Regions from separate parts of the Homo sapiens genome. Here regions 2, 3 and 4 are each linked to region 1. Evidence: promoter capture Hi-C in 16 types of primary human blood cells and fetal thymus (Javierre and others, 2016). All regions are on one chromosome and are shown on one strand. Each heading gives the region's core, a stretch centred on a gene start or on the middle of the fragment in contact. The rest is flanking DNA. Distances are from core to core; before and after follow the strand shown.

What was found. Contacts are between HindIII fragments. The CHiCAGO score rates a contact against its expected background, and 5 or more counts as called.
Region 2: a fragment that was not itself captured here is called in contact with the fragment with the promoter of CCNB1 in region 1 in 1 of 17 cell types (neutrophils); the score reaches 9.9 in neutrophils.
Region 3: a fragment that was not itself captured here is called in contact with the fragment with the promoter of CCNB1 in region 1 in 12 of 17 cell types (non-activated CD4 T cells, monocytes, neutrophils and 9 more); the score reaches 8.1 in non-activated CD4 T cells.
Region 4: a fragment that was not itself captured here is called in contact with the fragment with the promoter of CCNB1 in region 1 in 14 of 17 cell types (neutrophils, total CD8 T cells, naive CD8 T cells and 11 more); the score reaches 16.2 in neutrophils.

The regions. Positions count from the first base shown.
Region 1 is chr5:69,164,827-69,169,861 of GRCh38, forward strand. It overlaps CCNB1 (cyclin B1), which reads left to right and starts at 2,324. Exons shown (of 9, transcript NM_031966.4): 1 at 2,324-2,457; 2 at 3,082-3,252; 3 at 3,347-3,517. The coding sequence starts at 2,437. RefSeq lists enhancers at 2,004-2,969, 2,350-2,579. The HindIII fragment of the contact is 10,262 bases long and covers 1-4,781 here.
Region 2 is chr5:69,288,202-69,293,236 of GRCh38, forward strand. It overlaps CCDC125 (coiled-coil domain containing 125), which reads right to left. Exons shown (of 12, transcript NM_176816.5): 10 at 3,987-4,161. Among named protein-coding and RNA genes, the nearest start is that of CCDC125, 42 kb to the right of the region's middle. The HindIII fragment of the contact is 2,059 bases long and covers 2,070-4,128 here.
Region 3 is chr5:69,271,815-69,276,849 of GRCh38, forward strand. It overlaps CDK7 (cyclin dependent kinase 7), which reads left to right. Exons shown (of 12, transcript NM_001799.4): 10 at 1,078-1,227; 11 at 4,729-4,876. It also overlaps a transcript of CCDC125 not described here. Among named protein-coding and RNA genes, the nearest start is that of CDK7, 39 kb to the left of the region's middle. The HindIII fragment of the contact is 2,011 bases long and covers 1,740-3,750 here.
Region 4 is chr5:69,255,856-69,260,890 of GRCh38, forward strand. CDK7 (cyclin dependent kinase 7) reads left to right here. Exons shown (of 12, transcript NM_001799.4): 6 at 2,188-2,298; 7 at 3,963-4,081. Among named protein-coding and RNA genes, the nearest start is that of CDK7, 23 kb to the left of the region's middle. The HindIII fragment of the contact is 5,798 bases long and covers 1-5,035 here.

The DNA of each region.
Region 1 (5,035 bases), core at 1,074-3,573:
GAATGGCGTGAACCCGGGAGGCGGAGCTTGCAGTGAGCCTAGATGGCGCCACCGCACTCCAGCCTGGGCAACAAAGCAAGACTCCGTCTCAAAAAACAAACAAACAAACGAAAAACAAAAACAACTTACGTCCACTCAAAAATCTGCACACAGATGTTAGTAGCAGTTATATTCATACCAAAACTTGGACGCAATCAAGATGTCACTTAGTAGGTGACTGAATAAATAAACTAGTACATCCAGACAATGCAATATTATTCAGGGCTAAAATAAAATGAGATCCCAACCCATGAAAAAAACATGGAAGAACCTTAAATGCATATTTGAGTAAAAGAAACCATTCTGACCGCCAGGTGCAGTGGCTCACGCCTTCAATACCAGCACTTTGGGAGGTTGAGGCGGGTGGACATTATACGTCATTATATATTTGTCAAAACCCGTAGAAGACACAACACCTAGAGTGAACCTTAATGTAAACTATGGACTTTGGGTAATACTGTGGTGTCAATGTAGGTTAACAGATTATAATTAAAGTACAACTTTAATGTGGGGTGTCAATAGTGGGGAAGGCAGGTGAAATGCTCTATACTTTCTGCTAAGTTTTGCTGCGAACCTAAAACTGCTCTAAAAAATAAAGCATATAAAAGGAAAAATTTGGCCGGGCGTGGTGGCTCACGCCTGTAATCGCAGCACTTTGGGAGGCCGAGGCGGGCGGATCACCAAGTCAGGAGATCGAGACCATCCTGGCTAACATGGTGAAACCCCGTCTCTACCAAAAATACAAAAAATTAGCCGGCCGTTGTGGCGGGCGCCTGCCGTCCCAGCTACTCGGGAGGCTGAGGCAGGAGAATGGAGTGAACCCTGGAGGTGGAGGTTGCAGTGAGTCGAGATCGCACCACTGCACTCCAGCCTGGGCGACAGATCGAGACTCCGTCTCAAAAAAAAGTAAAAAAAAAAATTTTTAAACTGGAACACAGAGGATAAGTAATCCTGCTTCGCCCCTTGCCTCTCGCCCCTGCATGGGGCGAGGAAGGATTGATCAAACCCAGAAAGACTGAGTGAGAATGGATGTTGAACACAGAACTGAAGGATGAATGGGAGTTACCTGAATAGAACCCAGGGGCTTGAATGCAAGAAGAGGCGGGCATTCCAGGCAGAGGAGAGCAAGGGTAAGGGCCCCACGGGAGGCATTCGAGTAGGAGGGTGAACTATGATGACAGAAGACTCAATAACGATCCAAAGAAACCAAATGATTGGGCGCCTTCTTTCGGATCCGTGACTTCCAGCGCCAGGAGTCTCTATTGGCTCTTATACCGTTGCTCTATGGGATAGCAATGTTTTTGTCCTTCAGCCTCCCCTCCAATTGCTGAGCTGCTGGTGTGTTTTGAGGAGTAGAAGGCAAAAAGAACCCTCTTGTTTTTCTTTGGATCTAGAGAGAATCTGAGCAAATGACAAAGCAAATGGGGTAAAATGTCTTTTTGTTTAGTTTTTCCTGATTTTCCCATGAGAGGCAAATACATGTTAAGGATAGTTGAATCTGAGTAAAGGGCATAGAAATATTCCTTACAAGATTTTTGTTGGCAACTGGTCTAAGTATGAAATTATTTCCAAATAGAAAGCTAAAACAAACAAAACAATTGGCCTTGGGAAACTGGACAATCTTGAAGTAATCAAGTAATATTGTTAAGGGACAATCAGTGTTGTGAAAACAACACGGATACACCCCCTCCCTCCCCCTCAAAAAAAAAAACCCTAAATTCAGTTCCCCCGTTGCTAATGTGTGACCCTGGCAAAGTCATCTAAGTCGCTGAGCTTCAGTTCCTCCAACCCAGAGAGTTGTTGCAACGATCAAATGAAAGAATGTCTATTAAAGCCTTTCATGAACTATATTATTGCTGCTACCGTAGAAATGGAAAGTGTGCAACACTAGATCCAAAACTACTTTTGACACTTCTGAGACTGTGGCCGCGCCTCTGTCACCTTCCAAAGGCCACTAGGCCTTTCCTGAGCTGGCATTGGCAACGCACACTCTTGCCCGGCTAACCTTTCCAGGTGGGCGGCGCACTGGCTTCACTGCTCTCCAGGTGGCCGCTGCAGCTGCCCGAGAGCGCAGGCGCAGAGGCAGACCACGTGAGAGCCTGGCCAGGCCTTCCGGCCTAGCCTCACTGTGGCCCCGCCCCTCTCGAACGCCTTCGCGCGATCGCCCTGGAAACGCATTCTCTGCGACCGGCAGCCGCCAATGGGAAGGGAGTGAGTGCCACGAACAGGCCAATAAGGAGGGAGCAGTGCGGGGTTTAAATCTGAGGCTAGGCTGGCTCTTCTCGGCGTGCTGCGGCGGAACGGCTGTTGGTTTCTGCTGGGTGTAGGTCCTTGGCTGGTCGGGCCTCCGGTGTTCTGCTTCTCCCCGCTGAGCTGCTGCCTGGTGAAGAGGAAGCCATGGCGCTCCGAGTCACCAGGGTGAGCCGCTTCGGACTGCGAACTAACGCGGCCTTCTTAGCTGCTGCCTGCTCTCCCTGCCTCGCCTGCGGGAGCCTCCCGAGCGGGAGAGGGCCGCAGGAGCGATTTGGGGAGGAAGGTGGGAGGGGACTCACCAAGAGAGCGCCGAGGTGGGCCCAGGCCTGGTGAGAGAGTGTGGGGGACGATGGATGGAGGGAGGAAGGTGAGAAAGAGAACTGGACGGATATTGGATAAATGTTTTGGGGAGGTGGAGAGTCGACTGGGAACCTTTTGAAAAAGTGATAGAGGGTCCCTGAGTGGGCCCGCCAGCAACTCTGTAACCCCCTTCCCAGAGAGAAGGTGTCTGCAATTGGAGGCTTTTTCGGTTTCCTTTCAAATGTAAATTCTCGGTATTTTAGGGCTGGCCAGGACTAATCAGGGAATCCCTCAATTGGTAAATGTAGAGGTCGGCGGAAACTGACTTGTCACGGCCGCAGAGTAGACTCTGGGACCCATGTTTTCCCTCGGAACCCATTTTTAGTCGGCTTTCTTTCTGGGAACTTCTCCTTGTGCCCCACCTTAATTAACCCTTGACTTACTCGAGCCTTCGTGGATCAGCTCTTAAAGTGGTCTTGCTTCTTTCAGAACTCGAAAATTAATGCTGAAAATAAGGCGAAGATCAACATGGCAGGCGCAAAGCGCGTTCCTACGGCCCCTGCTGCAACCTCCAAGCCCGGACTGAGGCCAAGAACAGCTCTTGGGGACATTGGTAACAAAGTCAGTGAACAACTGCAGGCCAAAATGCCTATGAAGAAGGTAACTCTCTTCCTGACCTAACTTCTGTAAGAGCCCGCCTTCCAACTGTGGCCTTTGATGCAGAAACATTTCATTCTCTCTGTTTCATCTACAGGAAGCAAAACCTTCAGCTACTGGAAAAGTCATTGATAAAAAACTACCAAAACCTCTTGAAAAGGTACCTATGCTGGTGCCAGTGCCAGTGTCTGAGCCAGTGCCAGAGCCAGAACCTGAGCCAGAACCTGAGCCTGTTAAAGAAGAAAAACTTTCGCCTGAGCCTATTTTGGTAAACTTATTCTTACCATTGTAGAGTCTGTTGATTATTTCTTGTCCCTTATTTCACTGATACATGCAAGAGCATTCAAATGAATAGTAATATTAATACCATTTATTGAGTGCTTAGCATGAGGCAAGCTCTGCCTAACATTTTACATGCATTAACTCACATAATCTTTACACGTACTCTCTGAGGTATTGTCACCTCTACTATTTAAATCATGGCTTTAGAGAGGTTATGTCAGGGTCACACAGGTAAGTGGCCCATATGGGATTCAAGCTCAGGCTGTCTGGCTTCAGAATCTATGCTTTTAATTGTCAACTGTCTTATATTCCTTCGTTAATGATATTAAGTAGTAGCTGTCTGAGCCAAAGGCTTTGTTATCCAACTACAAGCCATCTCTGCAGAATTTATTGGCGTAAACATAGAATGTTCTCTTGAATTTTTTTACTGCTGCATATGGCTACTAAATAATAAGCCTGTAACATTGGAATATGCAAAGGAGTAAAACAGGAAGAAGGCAACTTTTCAGGGAGTGGTTAAGAAGATGAATTAACACTTAGCCTCAAAAATAATAACTTTTTATTAAATATAAGGTATGTAAATGTATTCTATGATAGACCTACCTGTGAAGGAAAGGTAGGTCATGTAGAGGAGGCTGCTTTGATGAAATTGCAATGAACTGTATTCTGAAGCTCTGTTTTTTTAAACTTAGTTAAAACCAGTTGGGAAAATTATCTGAAAAAAACTTGTTGAGACAGAGTCTGGCTCTGTTGCCCAGGCTGGAGTGCAGTGGCGTGATCTTGGCTCACTGCAACCTCTGCCTCCCAGGTTCAAGCAATTTTCCTGCCTCAGCCTCCCTAGTAGCTGGGATTACAGACGCACGCCACCACGCCCAGCTAATTTTCATATTTTTAGTATAGATGGGGTTTCACCATGTTAGTGTACTCCTGACCTCATGATCCGCCCGCCTCGGCCTCCGAAAGTGCTGGGATTACAGGCGTTAGCCACGGCGCCCAGCCAGTTCAGCTTCTTATATCTAAGGATAAGAGATTGAAAGCTATTGCTTTAGTGTTGAATTTCTGGGCATAGCACATGAAATATGTAGCCAGCACAGTCTTTGGGCATATCAAACTACGTGAGGCTTTCTTGGAAGGCCCATACTGATTCTTACCTTTGCTTTCCCACTTAGTAAGAATGCCTTCCCCACCCTGTCTTTCATTTAGCTAATAACCTTTTCATCCTTGAAAACAGCTCAAGCATCAACTCCTGAAGCTTTCCCAAACTTCCCCCATCTCCACCCCCTGTTCCTAGAATCAGTCTTTTTTTTCCCTTTGAGACAGAGTCTCACTCTGTTGCCCAGACTGGAGTGCAGTGGTGCCATCTTGGCTCACCACAACCTCTGCCTCCCGAGTTCAGTGATTCTCCTGCTTCAGCCTCCCAAGTAGCTGGGGCTACAGGCACATGCCACCATGCTTGGCTAATTTTTGTATTTTTAGTAGAGACGGGGTTTCACTATGTTGGCCA
Region 2 (5,035 bases), core at 1,849-4,348, 120 kb after region 1:
TTTCCTGGGTAATAGAAGCATCTTTTGTTCTAATGAGGCTCTTGATGGGCTCCTGGATAGCCTCAGGATGGGGGCTGGTTGCCAGGGGAACCAATCTTGTGATTAGAAAGCTGGAACTTTCAGCCCTAGCCCCCAAACTCCAGGGAAGCGAGAGGGGCTGAAGGTTGAGTTGATTACCAATGGCCAATGATGTAATCACCAATGGCCAGTGATGTACCGTGTCCATGTAATGAAGCCTCCATAAAAACCCAAAAGGGTCTGGGGAGCTTCCAGATAGCTGAGCATGTGAGGTTCCTGAGGGGTGGTACGCCAAAGAGAGCATCCCTTCCCACGTGCCTTGCCCTGTCCATCTCTTTATCTGGCTGTTCATCTGCATCCTTTGTAAGATCCTTTATAATAAACTGGTAAACGGAAGTGTTTCCCGGAGTTCTGTGAGGCATCCTAGCAAATCAATGGAGCCTGAGGAGGGCGTCATGGGAGTCCCAATGTACATACAGCCAGTCAGTCAGGAGCAGCAGAGACAACTCTGTGCTTTTGACTGGCATTTGGAGTGCAGGCCATCTTGTGGGACTGAGCCTTTAACTTATGGGATCTGACTCTAACTCCAGGTAGACAGTGTGAGAATTGAGGGAAATGATAGGATACCCAGCTGGTGTGTGGGGAATCCCCCACCCCTAGCATCTGGTGTCAGAAGCGCTGAGCTGAGTGGTAAGTGCTGTGTGAATAGGAAAACACTTTGGTTTCCCCTGTCTCTTACACTGTGGAAGGTAGGAATTATGGAACATCAAATGCACATATTCTCAAGTGCTGAAATGAGTATGAATCTAGCTCTTGAGAAAAATGCAGCTTTGTCTACACTGCACTATCCTAATGGCCAAGCTCCACACAGGGTTGCAGGCCTTGCAGGCAGGTGACAGGGTCTGACAGGCATTCGTAAGATTAAGATTACTTTAACCCTGACTTTCCCCTTCGTCTCTTCTTTTTCCCATCACTTTTCTTTCCACCTCTATCAAAACAAACAAATATTTACAATCTGACTTTCTAAGAAGATCTGCCTTCAATTAGCACAAAACACCAGGGCTGTCCTCAAAGAGGATTTTACAATCCAACTGCTATTAAGGGCTTAGCTGAGAGAGGAGGTGTCTGAGGAAGATTATCTACACATAGCTGTGGTCCGTGGTAGAACCAGGTATTCTTAGTGTTTTCCACTGGTTCCTAAAAGGCTAAATACATGGACCATGTTAGCTTTTTCCCTGGCAAAATCACCTAACCTGGATTGAACATTAAAGTTGTACCTTCAGCTTTTATGAAGAGTTTATTATAGAAAATGACCATATTATCTAAATACATTATTTTGTATTTATTATAAGACATTGTTGGCCAGGTGCAGTGGATCACATCTGTAACCACAGCATTTTGGGAGGCCGAGGAGGGAGGACCGCTTGAGCCCAGGAGTTTGAGACCAGCCTGGGTAACACAGTGAGACCTCATCTCTATAAACAAATACAAAATTTAGCCTGGCATGGTGGCACATGCCTGAAGTCCCAGCTGCTAGGGAGGCTGAGGTGGGAGGATTGCTTGAGCCCATGAGGTAGAGGCTGCAGTGAGTCATGATCACACCACTGCACTCCAGCCTGGGCAACAGGATAAGATGCTGCCTCAAAAAAAAAAAAAAAAAAGCTACTAAAACACTGTCGGGAATTTAGCCATTATATTTTCTCAAAAGTTTCGTGTCAGAAAACATTTTTAGAAATTAATTTCAAGAAAATATGAATGACTTTCTCAGAATAAGTGTTACAAAACATTATATTTTCCTGTTTTGTCCTGGCTTCCATCTAATGAACACTCCAAACATGTAGCTTCTATGATCTGCATTTCCCTACTCTGTAGTTCTGATTTACTGCTTCTATTTCTATCATCCCTCTGCATCACTTCTTACCCTTTTCAGCAAAGAAAAGGGGGAAAGCTTAGTTAATGAAACTAAAATTCACGACAGCTGACTCCTATACTATTAGTAATATATACTGTTTGAAAATAAATATTTCAAACAAAATGGCTATCTACTATAAAGCTTTCATTTTATTATTATTATTATTATTACTATTATTATTATTATTTTGAGACAGAGTCTTGCTCTGTCACCCAGGCTAGAGTACAGTGGCGCAATCTTGGCTCACTGCAACCTCTGCCTTCCAGGTTCAAGCGATTCTCCTGCCTCAGCTTCCCGAGTAGCTGGGATTACAGGTGAGTGCCATCACACCCAGCTAATTTTTGTATTTTTAGTAGAGATGGGGTTTCTCAATGTTGGCCAGGCTGGTCTTGAACTCCTGACCTCAGGTGATCTGCCTGCCTCAGCCTGCCAAAGTGCTGGGATTACAGGCCTGAGCCACCGCACATGGCCAGGTTTCTTTTTTTTTTCTTTTTTTTCTTTTTTTTTTTTTTTTGTTTGAGACAGTCTTGCTCTTTCCCCCAGGCTGGAGTGCAGTAGTGCAATCTTGGCTCACTGCAACCTCCACTTCCCAGGTTCAAGCAATTCTCCTGCCTCAGCCTCCCAAGTAGCTGGGACTACAGGCGCCTGCGACCAAGCCCGGCTAATTTTTGTATTTTTAGTAGAGGCAGGGTTTCACCATGTTGGCCAGGCTGGTCTCAAACTCCTGACCTCAAATGATCCACCCACCTCGGCCTCCCAAAGTGCTGGGATTACAGGCATGAGCCACGACGCCCAGCCAACAGGTTCCATTTTAAATATTTTCTATGATGGTGTTCCCCTAAGATCATTTTAAATATTACAAGATGTGTATTAGTCTTTCTAAATTCACCTGAATATAAGAGATGTTAGAATTATAGATCTGACAGATAAGAAAATATTTAGAAATACAGTCATCCTAGAATTTTTCTACAAAACATTTAAAATTCTTATAAACTTCACTTGATTCTTTCTCAACTGATAAATGGTTTCAAATTATAATTTGACATTTTAAACTGAAGCAATATGAATTCTACAGAATAATACTGATGAATAAAAATTGGTATGAACTACTTAGAGAAACAGATTTCTAAAAAATAACAGCTACTTTGTTCATACTGGAAGATCTACTTCAATTCTCTCATGCTATTTTAATATATTTTTTAATACACAGATATAATAATACTCAATACTGATCATTTTTTTTTTTTTGAGATGGAGTCTCATTCCGTCGCCCAGTGCAGTGGCGCGATCTCAGCTCACTGCAACCTCTGCCTCCTGGGTTCAAGCGATTCTTCTGCCTCAGCCTCCTGAGCAGGTGGTATTACAGGCATGTGCTACCACGCCCGGCTAATTTTTGTGTTTTTAGTAGAGATGGGGTTTTGCCATGTTGGCCAGGCTGTTCTCGAACTCCTGACCTCAGGTGATCCACCCTCCTTGGCCTCTCAAAGTGCTAGGATTACAGGCGTGAGCCACCACACCCAGCCTGGCCATAAATTTTTGATGGGTTCGTGAACCAAAACCTAAACCTAAACTTCTGCTTCATTTTTTCTAAGAATATTTTATTAATTTGTCCAACTTAAGGTTTTTCCTCTATTCCTCAATTTCCTTCTCAAAAGCATACATTTCAATAAAGTTTAATTAGATAGATACATTTAATGTCATGTTTAAGTGACATTTTTCACATTACTTCCTTCTTGGCAGTTTCCTTTTAATCACCTAGCACTTTTATTGTAAAGTTTTTTCACTAAACATGGTCTTATTTAAATGAAACAGAAGAGTACTAGAAAATAAATATTCCTGTTATGTTATGGTTTATGGATTCCAGTAGTTCACCTGCACATGTAATATCCAATGACTCCTTTTTTTCCATAGTTGCTAAGTTTTTAAGTAAACCACAACCATATGTGAAGTTTCAATTATTTTTGCCCACATTGGATTAAGTGTGCTTCATCAACTTGGATTATAAACAAAACAACTAAAATTACACCCACTTATTGCCATTATAATTCATAGTTACCATCCTCTTTAAGGTGCTTCCAATTCATCCATTTTGTTGCTTTTTTATGCATTTTATCCATTTGTGTCAATTGTAGTGCCTGGTCATTTTTTCTCATTAATTGTTGCTCAAATGCAATTCTGAAAGCATCTGCCATCACGTAAGCTTCTTCTTTACTCTTCTGCAAAATTTCCAACTGATTTTGAAAGACAGTTTGGGAGGTGTCAGAGGCAAAACCAGAACAATTCTTGCTGAATGGGGAATCAAATTAACATATGCAATCTCACTGCCTAGCACTGGTTTATTGCCTGTGGTCTGATCTAGTTTATCTGATTACGCTAATTAATGCTTGCTATTTCTGCAGTAGCAACTTACTCTGATCCAGATTATCAGTTTCCCTTGTGGTGCCTGTCAACTGCCTGCTAACCTAACCCCTGGACCTCACTACCCCATGCAGGCCCTGTGTGTGTGTCCTGCTCAAGTCCTGGGACAAAGGGCCCAGCATGAAAGATAAGAGGATACCAAAGGCTGCATTTCAACTCAGCTTTGGGCCATTCCAGACCACACCACTGAAAATAATGATGAATACGACCTTTCAAATACGTCTTATAGATGACCTTGACTTTGATCAATGTAATCTCATGTTTTTCTTTTCTTCTATTTTTTTCTTCTTCTTCTTTTTTTTTTTTCTTTTGATGGAGTCTCGCTCTGTCGCCCAGGCTGGAGTGCAGTGTCGTGATCTCGGCTCACTGCAAGCTCCGCCTCCTGGGTTCAAGCAATTCTCCTGCCTCTGCCTCTCGAGTAGCTGGGACTATAGGCGCATGTTGCCACGCCTGGCTAATTTTTTGTATTTTAGTAGAGATGGGGTTTCACTGTGTTGCCCAGGCTGGTCTCGAACTCCTGAGCTCAGGTAATCCACCCGCCTCGGCCTCCCAAAGTGCTGGTTTACAGGCATGAGCCACTGCGCCCGGTCTTTCTTTTTGTTTTGGAGACAGGGTCTCTCACTCTGTCACCCAGGCTAGAGTGCAGTGATGTGAACACGGCTCACTGTAACTGTGACGTCTTAGGCT
Region 3 (5,035 bases), core at 1,495-3,994, 110 kb after region 1:
TGACAATTTTTTTTGTATTTTTTTCTACAAGTTTTGTAGTTTTATACTTAAGTCCAAGATCTGTTTAGAGTTTACCTTTATATGATGTGTGAGACTTAGGGCAAGGTTCAGTTTTTGTTTTTTTTTTTCTTTGAGACAGTCTCACTCTGTTCCCCAGGTTGGAGTGGGGTCTCACTTTCTTGTCCAGGCTGGTCTCGAACTCCTGAGCTCAAGTGACCCTCCTGCCTCAATCTCCCAAAGTGCTGAGATTACAAGCGTGAGCTGCCACACCCAGCCAAGTTCAGATTTTTGCACATGTATGTCGAAGTGTTCCAGCAGTATTTGTTGAAATGACGGTCTCTTCATTGATTTAGTTTTTCACTTTTTTCAAAAATCCTTTTGGCAGATTTGTGTGGATTTCTAAGTCCTTTATTGAGTTCCATTGATTTATGTATCTCTCTCTCTGCCAATACAACAGAGTCTTAATCAAAGTAGCTATATGTTAAATCTTGAAATCAGGTAAAATGAGTCCTCCCACTTTATTGTTCTTTTTCAAAATCATTTTAGCTACTGTAGTCCTTTGCCTTTCCATATAAATTGTAGAATAATTGGTCCTATATCTAAGATAATTTTGCTAGGATTTTGATAAAAATTACATTAGACTTGCAAATCAATTTGAGGATAATTAACATCCTTCCTCTGTTGAATATTCCAATATGTGAACACGATATGTTTCACCATTTATTGAGATCTTTTGATGACTTTCATCAGCATTGTATAGCTTATAGTATATTACCCTATACATGTTTTGTTACATTTTTCACCTGTTTCATTTTTCTTTTTGGGGTGATTATAAATAGTACTGTGTTTTTAATTTTGATGTCCACATATTTATTGCTAGTGTACAAAATTACAATTGATTTTTAAATTTTCAATTTATATCCTTTTCAGCCTTGTCTTACTACTAGTTCTAGGACTTTTTAATAGATTTCTTGGAATTTTCTATATAAACCATCATATCACCTGAAAATGATTTATTTCATTTGCAATCTATATGCCTTTAATCCTTAAGTTTGAATTACAAAATTATTTTTACAGGACATGTGTAGTCTTCCAGATTATGTGACATTTAAGAGTTTCCCTGGAATACCTTTGCATCACATCTTCAGTGCAGCAGGAGACGACTTACTAGATCTCATACAAGGCTTATTCTTATTTAATCCATGTGCTCGAATTACGGCCACACAGGTATTTTGGTGTATCTTTTTTATACTAGGAAATATAAAAATAATCTTAACTGTAGCATTGATAAAAATAGAATTTCATAAAATTAACATTTTTTAAATACTGGAAAGATGTGTTTTTGTTTTAAGAAATAACAAACTTTGTATCTTTTCCCCAAACTACAAACACTATTAAGACTGAGATTAAATTATATGCACACAGAGATACAGGAGAGTTTACACTTATTACACTTGCTTAGGGACATTTAAATACATGTCTATTTCACATAATTGGCTTGTAAATACTTTACTTAGAAAAAGAAAACCAAGGCTTTTTATTTGTTAAGAAACTGGTATATTTCAGTTGAGCTCTTACAAATTCATTTAAATCTTGTAGCAATGCTGAAAGTAGTTTGTTCGGCTTATTTTTTCTTTCCTATATAATGCAATCCAGGTATGCATGCTGATCATTCTCACATTGAGAACATGGTAATGGGGAGGAAATGGTATAGTCAGATATAATTGTATGCTTACAAAAGCTTGAAAAATATTTGAAATAAAACAAAAACTGAAACTAACTGCTGTTTAAAGGAAATAACAAACTCATGAAAAATTTGGAAGACCTAGAATAACTTAGGGCAGAGCACTGTACAACACAGTGCAGTGATTTTACCTCATGAAGGGAGAGACTAATGAAAGTGAGATCACAGGTCTTTATGGAAACATATTAATGTACAGTAATATTAAGCATACAAAATAGATTTTTTTCTCTTTAGGTTTGTTCCAGGCTACAAAATCATTGTTTAATGCACTTGCTTGTATAAGCCTTCTCTTTTTAGCAATGTGTGCTATGTGAATATATATGGAGATGGATGGATGGATGGAAGGATAGATAGATATAGATGGATAGGTAGGTAGGTATATGCTGGGTATTTACCATTAGAATTATTCTCCTAATTTCTTTTTTAAAAAATTTTTCTTTATTATTTTTATGTCCATGTGTACACATACTCTTTTAATTTCAAACAAGTAATTTGTTGCCTTTTCACTCATACTTCTATGTATATTATTTCCATCATAATAAACTTGAGACCACATTTAATTATCTAGAAAGTTGTTTTCATTGGTAGTATAGTTTGAAACTTAACAGAAAAATACTAGTTGTTGTATTTGGGTTGTATTTTAATAGAATGAAGTTTTTAAAGTGAGTTTTGTTTCATGGATGTCTTTATTAAAGTTGGAATGAGGTATTTTCTTAGATCTTTAGCCCAGAATTAGCCTAATTTGCATATAGAACTGCTGTGATTTAGAAGTAATGCTTTAAAAATGCAGCTGTAGGCCGGTGCATCGGCTCACACCTGTAATCCCAGCACTTTGGGAGGTGAAGGAGCAAGGATAGCTTGAGCCCAGGAGTTGGAGCCCAGCCTGGGCAACATGACAAAACATCATCTCTACAAAAAGTAAATAAATAAAAAATGAAAATGCAACTGTTGAAGTAAGGAATCTCTAAATTACTGCAAATAATATTGGGAGTGGTGAGGAATGCTTGCAAAGTTTATATGGGCTTCATCTTTCTTAAAGGATTATCCTAAAGGAAGTATTTATTTATTTATTTTTGAGACGAAGTCTTGCTCTGTCACCCAGGCTGGAGTGCAGTGGCACGATCTTGACTCACTGCAACCTCTACCTCCCAGGTACAAGCGATTCTCCTGTCTCAGCCTCCCTAGTAGCTGGGATTACAGGTGCACACCACCATGCCTGGCTAATTTTTGGATTTTTAGTAGAGACAGGGTTTCACCATGTTATCGAGGCTGATCTCGAACTCCTGACCTCAGGTGATCCATCTGCCTCGGCCTCCCAAAGTGCTGGGATTACAGGCATGAGCCACCCCGCCCTGCCAGAAGTATTTTAAATCATTGTAGCCACTGGACAGCACTATGCTGCTGATGTAAATAGACAAGCATGTGAACCCGGGAGGTGGAGGTTGCAGTGAGCCAAGATTGTGCCACTGCACTCCAGCCTGGGCAACAGGGTGAGACTCTGTATCCAAAAAAAAAAAAAAAGACAAGCATGACCTGACAAACTTGTCATTTAGGATATAATTATTTTTATCAGAATTGTGGACCCAAGTCAAGAAAATGTATTGTATCTACAGCACTATAGTAGGGGGAAAAAAAGAGAAAATGTATTATAGAACATTGGCCTGGTAATTAATAGAAATAATCTTGGAGAAGCCCTTCCAAGTAAAATTTCTGTCCATTTGCAATGGATTGTTGAATTAGAATCCATTGGTTCCAACCTACTGTATTTTTTAAAAAGCCTTATTTTTTAAGAATTTATATTTTACATGACTTGGAATTTGAATATATATGGATAGTGTGGCCAACTTGTAAGTTCTTTTTAAGTTTCTCTCTTTGCATTTTGAACTGTAGAGTTCAATATGTAGAGAATGGAAATGTACAATATTTCACTAAGGATAGCTCATAATTAGTATAGGTTGAGCATCCTTAATCCAAATATCCGAAATCTGAAATGCTCCAAAATCCAAAGCTTTTTGAATGATGACGTGATGCCACAAGTGGAAAATTCTACACATAAGGACATTAACAAAACTTTGTTTTATGTACAAAATTAAAAATTTTGTCAAATTAAAAATATTTTATAAAATTACCTTCAGCCAGGCGCGGTGGCTCACGCCTGTAATCCTAGCTCTTAGGGAGGCGGAGGCGGGAGGATAGCTTGAGCCCAGGAGTTCAAGACAAGCCTGGCCAATATAGCAAGACCCCATTCTCCACAAAAAATAAGTGTAAAATTACCTTCAGTTTATATGTATAAGCTGTATATGAAACATAAGTTTCATTTTTAATCTTGGCTTCCATCCCCAAGGTACGTCATGTATATGCAAATATTCCACAGTCCAAAATCTGAAGCACTTCTGGTCCCAAGCATTTTAGATAAGATATATTCAGCCTGTATAGGCTATTTAATTATGGAAAAATTAGAAGGGAGTCTTTTTTTCTTTTCTTTTTTTGATACGGAGCCTTGCTCTGTCGCCCAGGCTGGAGTGCAGTGGTGCGATCTCGGCTCACTGCAACCTCTGCCTCTGGGTTCAAGCGATTCTCCTACCTCAGCCTCCCGAGTAGTGGGGACTACAGACATGCACCACCACGCCCAGCTTATTTTTGTATTTTTAGTAGAGATGGAGTTTCGCCACGTTGGCCAAGCTGATCTCGAACTTCTGACCTCATGTGATCCACCCGCCTCAGCCTCCCAAGGTGCTGGGATTACAGGCATGAGCTACTGTGCCCGGCCAGTCTTTTAATGGAATTATCAGCCAATCTTAGGATCCTAGGTATTTATTTGTAGTAATTTCCATTTGCAAATACTTGACATTAATTTTGTTTTGTTGGGAATGAGGGCATTCACATAGTATTTTTAATGCTCCCTATAATCTTGAAGGTAAGATTTTCCTTAACACATTTCAGATACTCACCTACCTTACTTTTGGTATCTTTTCTTTTAAAAGGCACTGAAAATGAAGTATTTCAGTAATCGGCCAGGGCCAACACCTGGATGTCAGCTGCCAAGACCAAACTGTCCAGTGGAAACCTTAAAGGAGCAATCAAATCCAGCTTTGGCAATAAAAAGGAAAAGAACAGAGGCCTTAGAACAAGGTAAGATTCCCACTTTTAAAAGAAATTAAATGAATTTAGAAAACTCCAAATAGCTCGTGTATGGCTAGCGACTGAACAACAGCAAAGAAATGTAGCTTGCTAGCTATTTAATTTTTATAAATTTAATTGTATAAAGTAGAGAGACTGTGCCGTTTTAGG
Region 4 (5,035 bases), core at 1,426-3,925, 91 kb after region 1:
TCTGTTCACCCAGCCTGGAGTGCAATGGCGTGATCTCGGCTCTCTGCAGCCATCACCTCCTGGGTTCCAGTGATTCTCTCACTTCAGCCTCCCAAGTAGCTGGGATTACAGGTGCCACCACGCCCGGCTAAATTTTATATTTTAAGTAGAGACGGGGTGTCACCATGTTGGCCAGGCTGGTCTTGAACTCCTGACCTCAAGTGATCTGCCTGCCTCAGCCTCCCAAAGTGCTAGGATTACAGGCATGAGTCACCATGCCTAGCAACCTATAAGAATTTAAAATTTATTTCTGGCCAGTGCAGTGACTCACGCCTGTAATCTCAGCACTTTGAGAGGCCAAGGCAAGAGGATTGCTTAAGCCCAGGAGTTCAAGACCAGCCTGGACCCCATAGATCCTGTCTCAGCTTTACAAATTATATTAAAAAATAAAGAAACTTATTTCCATATAATCAGAGTAATGTCATTCTTTTGAAAGCCAAGTTTTTTTGTTTGTTTTTGTTTTTGTTTTGTTTTTTTGAGACAGAGTCTTGCTTTGTTACCCGTGCTGGAGTACAGTGGCGCGATCTCAACTCACTGCAACCTCTGCCTCCCAGGTTCAAGCAATTCTTGTGCCTCAGCCTCCTGAGTAGCTGGGATTACAAGCGCCCATCACCATGCCCAGCTAAAATAGAGATGGGGTTTCACTATGTTGGACGGGATGGTTTCAAACTCTTGACCTCTGGCGATCTACCTGCCTGAGCCTCCCAAAGTGCTGGGATTATAAGCGTGAGCCACCATGCCCGGCCTCTTTCTTTTAGATAAATACCTAGCAGTGGTATTGCTAGATCACAAGATTATTGATTAGTGGTATCGATCACAATATTAGTGATGCTGTTATAGATCACAATACTAATGGTATTGATCCTGGAAGGACCTATCATAATAGGCTATGGACTCACCACTAGGCTATGGATTGCACCATTGCACTCCATCCTGGGTGACAGAGTGAGATTCCCATCTCGAAAAAAGAAAAAAAAAAGAAACAAAAACGTATGCCAGAATTCAGTTGGTACAGATGTTTGGCTTTATTAATAATTATCAAAACTGGAACAATCCAAACATCCCTCATTCTAACTGTACAAACAAACTGAAATACTACTCAGGAATAGAAACACACTATTGATAAATGCAGCAACATAGATGAATCTGAAATGCATTATACTAAGTGAAAGAAGCCAGGCTAAAAAGACTATGTATTGAACCATTTCATTTATATGATATTCTGGAAAAGGCAAAATGAAAGGAACCAGAAACCAGATCAGCGGTTATGGGGGCTTTGGGGTAAAGGAAAGGAGTAAGTACAGAGGGGCCTCAGGGAATTTGGGGAGGTTACGGAACTATGCTTTGATTATAGTGGTGGTTACATGACTGGATGCATTTGTCAAAACTCATGGAACTATACACTAAAAAGGGTATGCTTTACCTTAAATCTGATTTTAAAAAAAGAAAAGGGGAACTTTTAGTTCCTAACTGATAAATCTAGAATAAACTGACATTAGGCACAGCTCATAAATAATGCCATCAAAACTCAGTCTTACGCTTTAACTAAGCTCCATTTTCTTCTCTGTTGCATTCTTCATGTGTACAGTTCTCAATATGGTGTTCCAGATGCTTCTAGGTATATGTTTGTAGAGTTTAATAATACCTGAGGAACGAAAGTGCTTTCTTTTCTTTGATTCTAGCACAAGTACTTGGCCTGGTTGATTGACTTGTCTTGTATCCCTGAACCAATCACTTGGCCAGGAGACTGCAGTGTGATAATGGGGATGCCTGGGTCATGTGCCTACCTCTGGAGGCCTTAGGTTGACTCAGTCCTACCTTAACCATGTGGACTAAGCTGAGAAGAGATGGCTTCCCAAAGGAACACTAACTGCTATTGTCAGAAGATGCAAGCAGAAACAACAGGTGTTTGCTACTTTCATGCGAAAGCAGTAGAGGACAAAGCACTGCTTTCTTTTCAAACCAGAAATGCTCTCCCTACCCATCTAACTCTGGAGATTTTGACAGGGCTTCCTGAGGAAACTTAGATAACCTCTTTTGAGAGTCTCCTGTATTGATACTTACATTTTAAGTCTGTAAATTGTTTTATGTGGTAGAGTTTATTTGAAATAATAAAGGGTACCTGTATATTGTATACTTGCTTTACAGGTTATAATAAAGGATAATAGTCTTGTGCTGACACCATCACACATCAAAGCCTACATGTTGATGACTCTTCAAGGATTAGAATATTTACATCAACATTGGATCCTACATAGGGTAAGGTTTTTAATATTGCTTCTTTATACTAGTCAAGTTTTATATAGCCAATTTGGTACATAGTGGTCTGAATATGTAAATTGTTTAACAATGAATTTATAGCTGACTGTTTTATCCCATCTTTTTGCTATATATTATTCCCTTCACTTGTTCCAGCAGTTGGTGCTGTAAGGACTCCATATTACTTTGTGAAATTTAGAACTGGAAGAGATCCAGTCCCTCATTTTTTTTTTTTTTTTTTTTTGAGATGGAATCTTGCTCTGTCACCCAGGCTGGAGTGCAGTGGCGCGATCTCTTGCTCACTGCAAGCTCCGTCTCCTGGTTTCATGCCATTCTCCTGCCTCAGCCTCCCGAGTAGCTGGGACCACAGGTGCCCGCCACCACGCCCAGCTAATTTTTTGTATTTTTTTAGTAGAGACGGGGTTTCACCGTGTTAGCCAGAATGGTCTCGATCTCCTGGCCTCGTGATCTGCCCATCTTGGCCTCCCAAAGTGCTGGGATTACAGGCGTGAGCCATTGCGCCCGGCCTCCTCATTTTTTAATAGATGAAGAGCTAAGTTGCTAAGTGACCTGACCATGGTTATATTTTTTTTCAAGGTTGGCTGCTGATAATGGACAGAGTATTAAAACATAGGTTTTGACCCAGGCATGGTGGCTCACTTTTGTGTTGCCAGCACTTTGGGAGGCTGAGGCAAGTAGATATCTCGAGCCCAGGAGTTCTAGACCAGCCTGGGCAATATAGTGAAAACTCATCTCTACAAAAAATACAGAAATTAGCTGGGTGCAGTGGTGCACACCTGTAGTCCCAGCTGCTCAGGAGGCTGAGGTTGGGGGATCACCTGAGCCCAGGAGGTGGGGGTTGCAGTGAGCTGAGACCTCACCACTGCACTCTAGTCTGGGTGACAGAGTGAAACCCTGTCTCAAAAAAAAAAAAAAGAACATAGGTCTTTTGGCTTTAAGTTCAGTATTCTTTGTGCTACAATGTTGTTGTGGGGAAAAAAATATAGAGATGGTCTTGGATTAACTCATACAATGCCAAAATACTAGAAAAGTAATGTTTCTTGTAGCTCTAAAATTCAAGGTACAAAATACAGTTTATGAAATAGTGGGAACATTCAGCTTTTAGAACAAAGCTGATAATTTAGCTAGGTAGATGCTAGCTACCTAGCTATTTAGATAAGTAGCTAAGAATATATAATTTATAACTAGTAATTCTCATATCGTAAGTTTGGAATCCCTCTTAGGTTATTGCTGATGTCTTTTTAGCATGGATTTTGAAGAATGTCATCCTCATTCTTATACATTAACAACGTATATTATGAAAGTTCATATTTATTATTAATAGTAGGAACCATTTATTGAGTGCCTACTATGAGCCAGTTATTACACTAGACTACAGAAAATATCAGATTTAATCCTCACAGAAACTCTATGAAGTATGTAAATTATGGCTTAGTGAAATTAAGTTCCTTACCAAGGTTATATATTATAACCAATCCAATTTTGCTTTGATGGGATTTTATATCAGTGGGAAAAAAATTGATTGTTTAGATTTCAGGTGTTACCTTGTTTTTGCTAAGTTTAAAGTTATGCCAACTAAATGTAGCACTACAGTGTTCTCCCCTACCCTGCTTATTTGTTTGTTTAAAACTTCCGTCATATAGGATCTGAAACCAAACAACTTGTTGCTAGATGAAAATGGAGTTCTAAAACTGGCAGATTTTGGCCTGGCCAAATCTTTTGGGAGCCCCAATAGAGCTTATACACATCAGGTTGTAACCAGGTAAGAATCTCTTAAAGCTACATGTGCAGGAGTTTGATCAGAAATGAGCATCAACTGGCTTCTCTGAACTATCTTGGCAGAGTTAAGGAATCATTGTTGATAGATACCGTCTTAAAAAATACTGCCATTTGGCCAGGCGCGGTGACTCATGCCTGTAATCCCAGCACTTTGGGAGGCCAAGGCAGGCAGACCCACGAGGTCAGGAGTTTGAGACCAGCCTGGCCAACATGGTGAAACCCCGTCTCTACTAAAAATACAAAAGAATTAGCTGGGCATGGTGGCGCACGCCTGTAATCCTAGCTACTCAGGAGGCTGAGGCAGGAGAATTGCTTGAACCAGAGAGGCAGAAGTTGCAGTGAGCAGAGATTGCACCACCGCACTCCAGCCTGGGCGACAGAGAAAGACTCCCTCTCAGGGAAAAACAAAAAACAAACAAAAAAAAAACCTGTCATTTTTATGTTAGGTATACTTTACCACGATGAAAAAATACATAGCCCCTTTTCAAACAGAGTCTAACTTAATCCTAAGACATTTACCTTGTAAATGGGAACAATTTATACTTTAACATTTTAGTTAGATAATCTAGAATTTCAGTGGATATTCTTCTACCTAATCATCTGATTTATTGGACCCATTTTTATTATGTTGGTCAGTGCTGATTCTGTATCCTTCTATGTAAATGAAAATTCTCTAAACAGAGCAATGTCTTGATATTTGAATTTTTCATATTGGTAATTATATTTTCCATTTGTATTTTTGATGTGAAAAAACAGAAAATCACATTAAATAGGAATGATAGATTTTATAATTTTTGTCCCAGTGGCATTTTGTTAATTTCCAAGACCGTTTTAAGGATCTGCAAAGATTTTCAAATTCTGTATTTTTTCTTTTTCTTTTTTGAGACAGGATCTCGCTCTGTTGCCCAGGCTGAAGTGCGGTTGTGCAAACAGTACT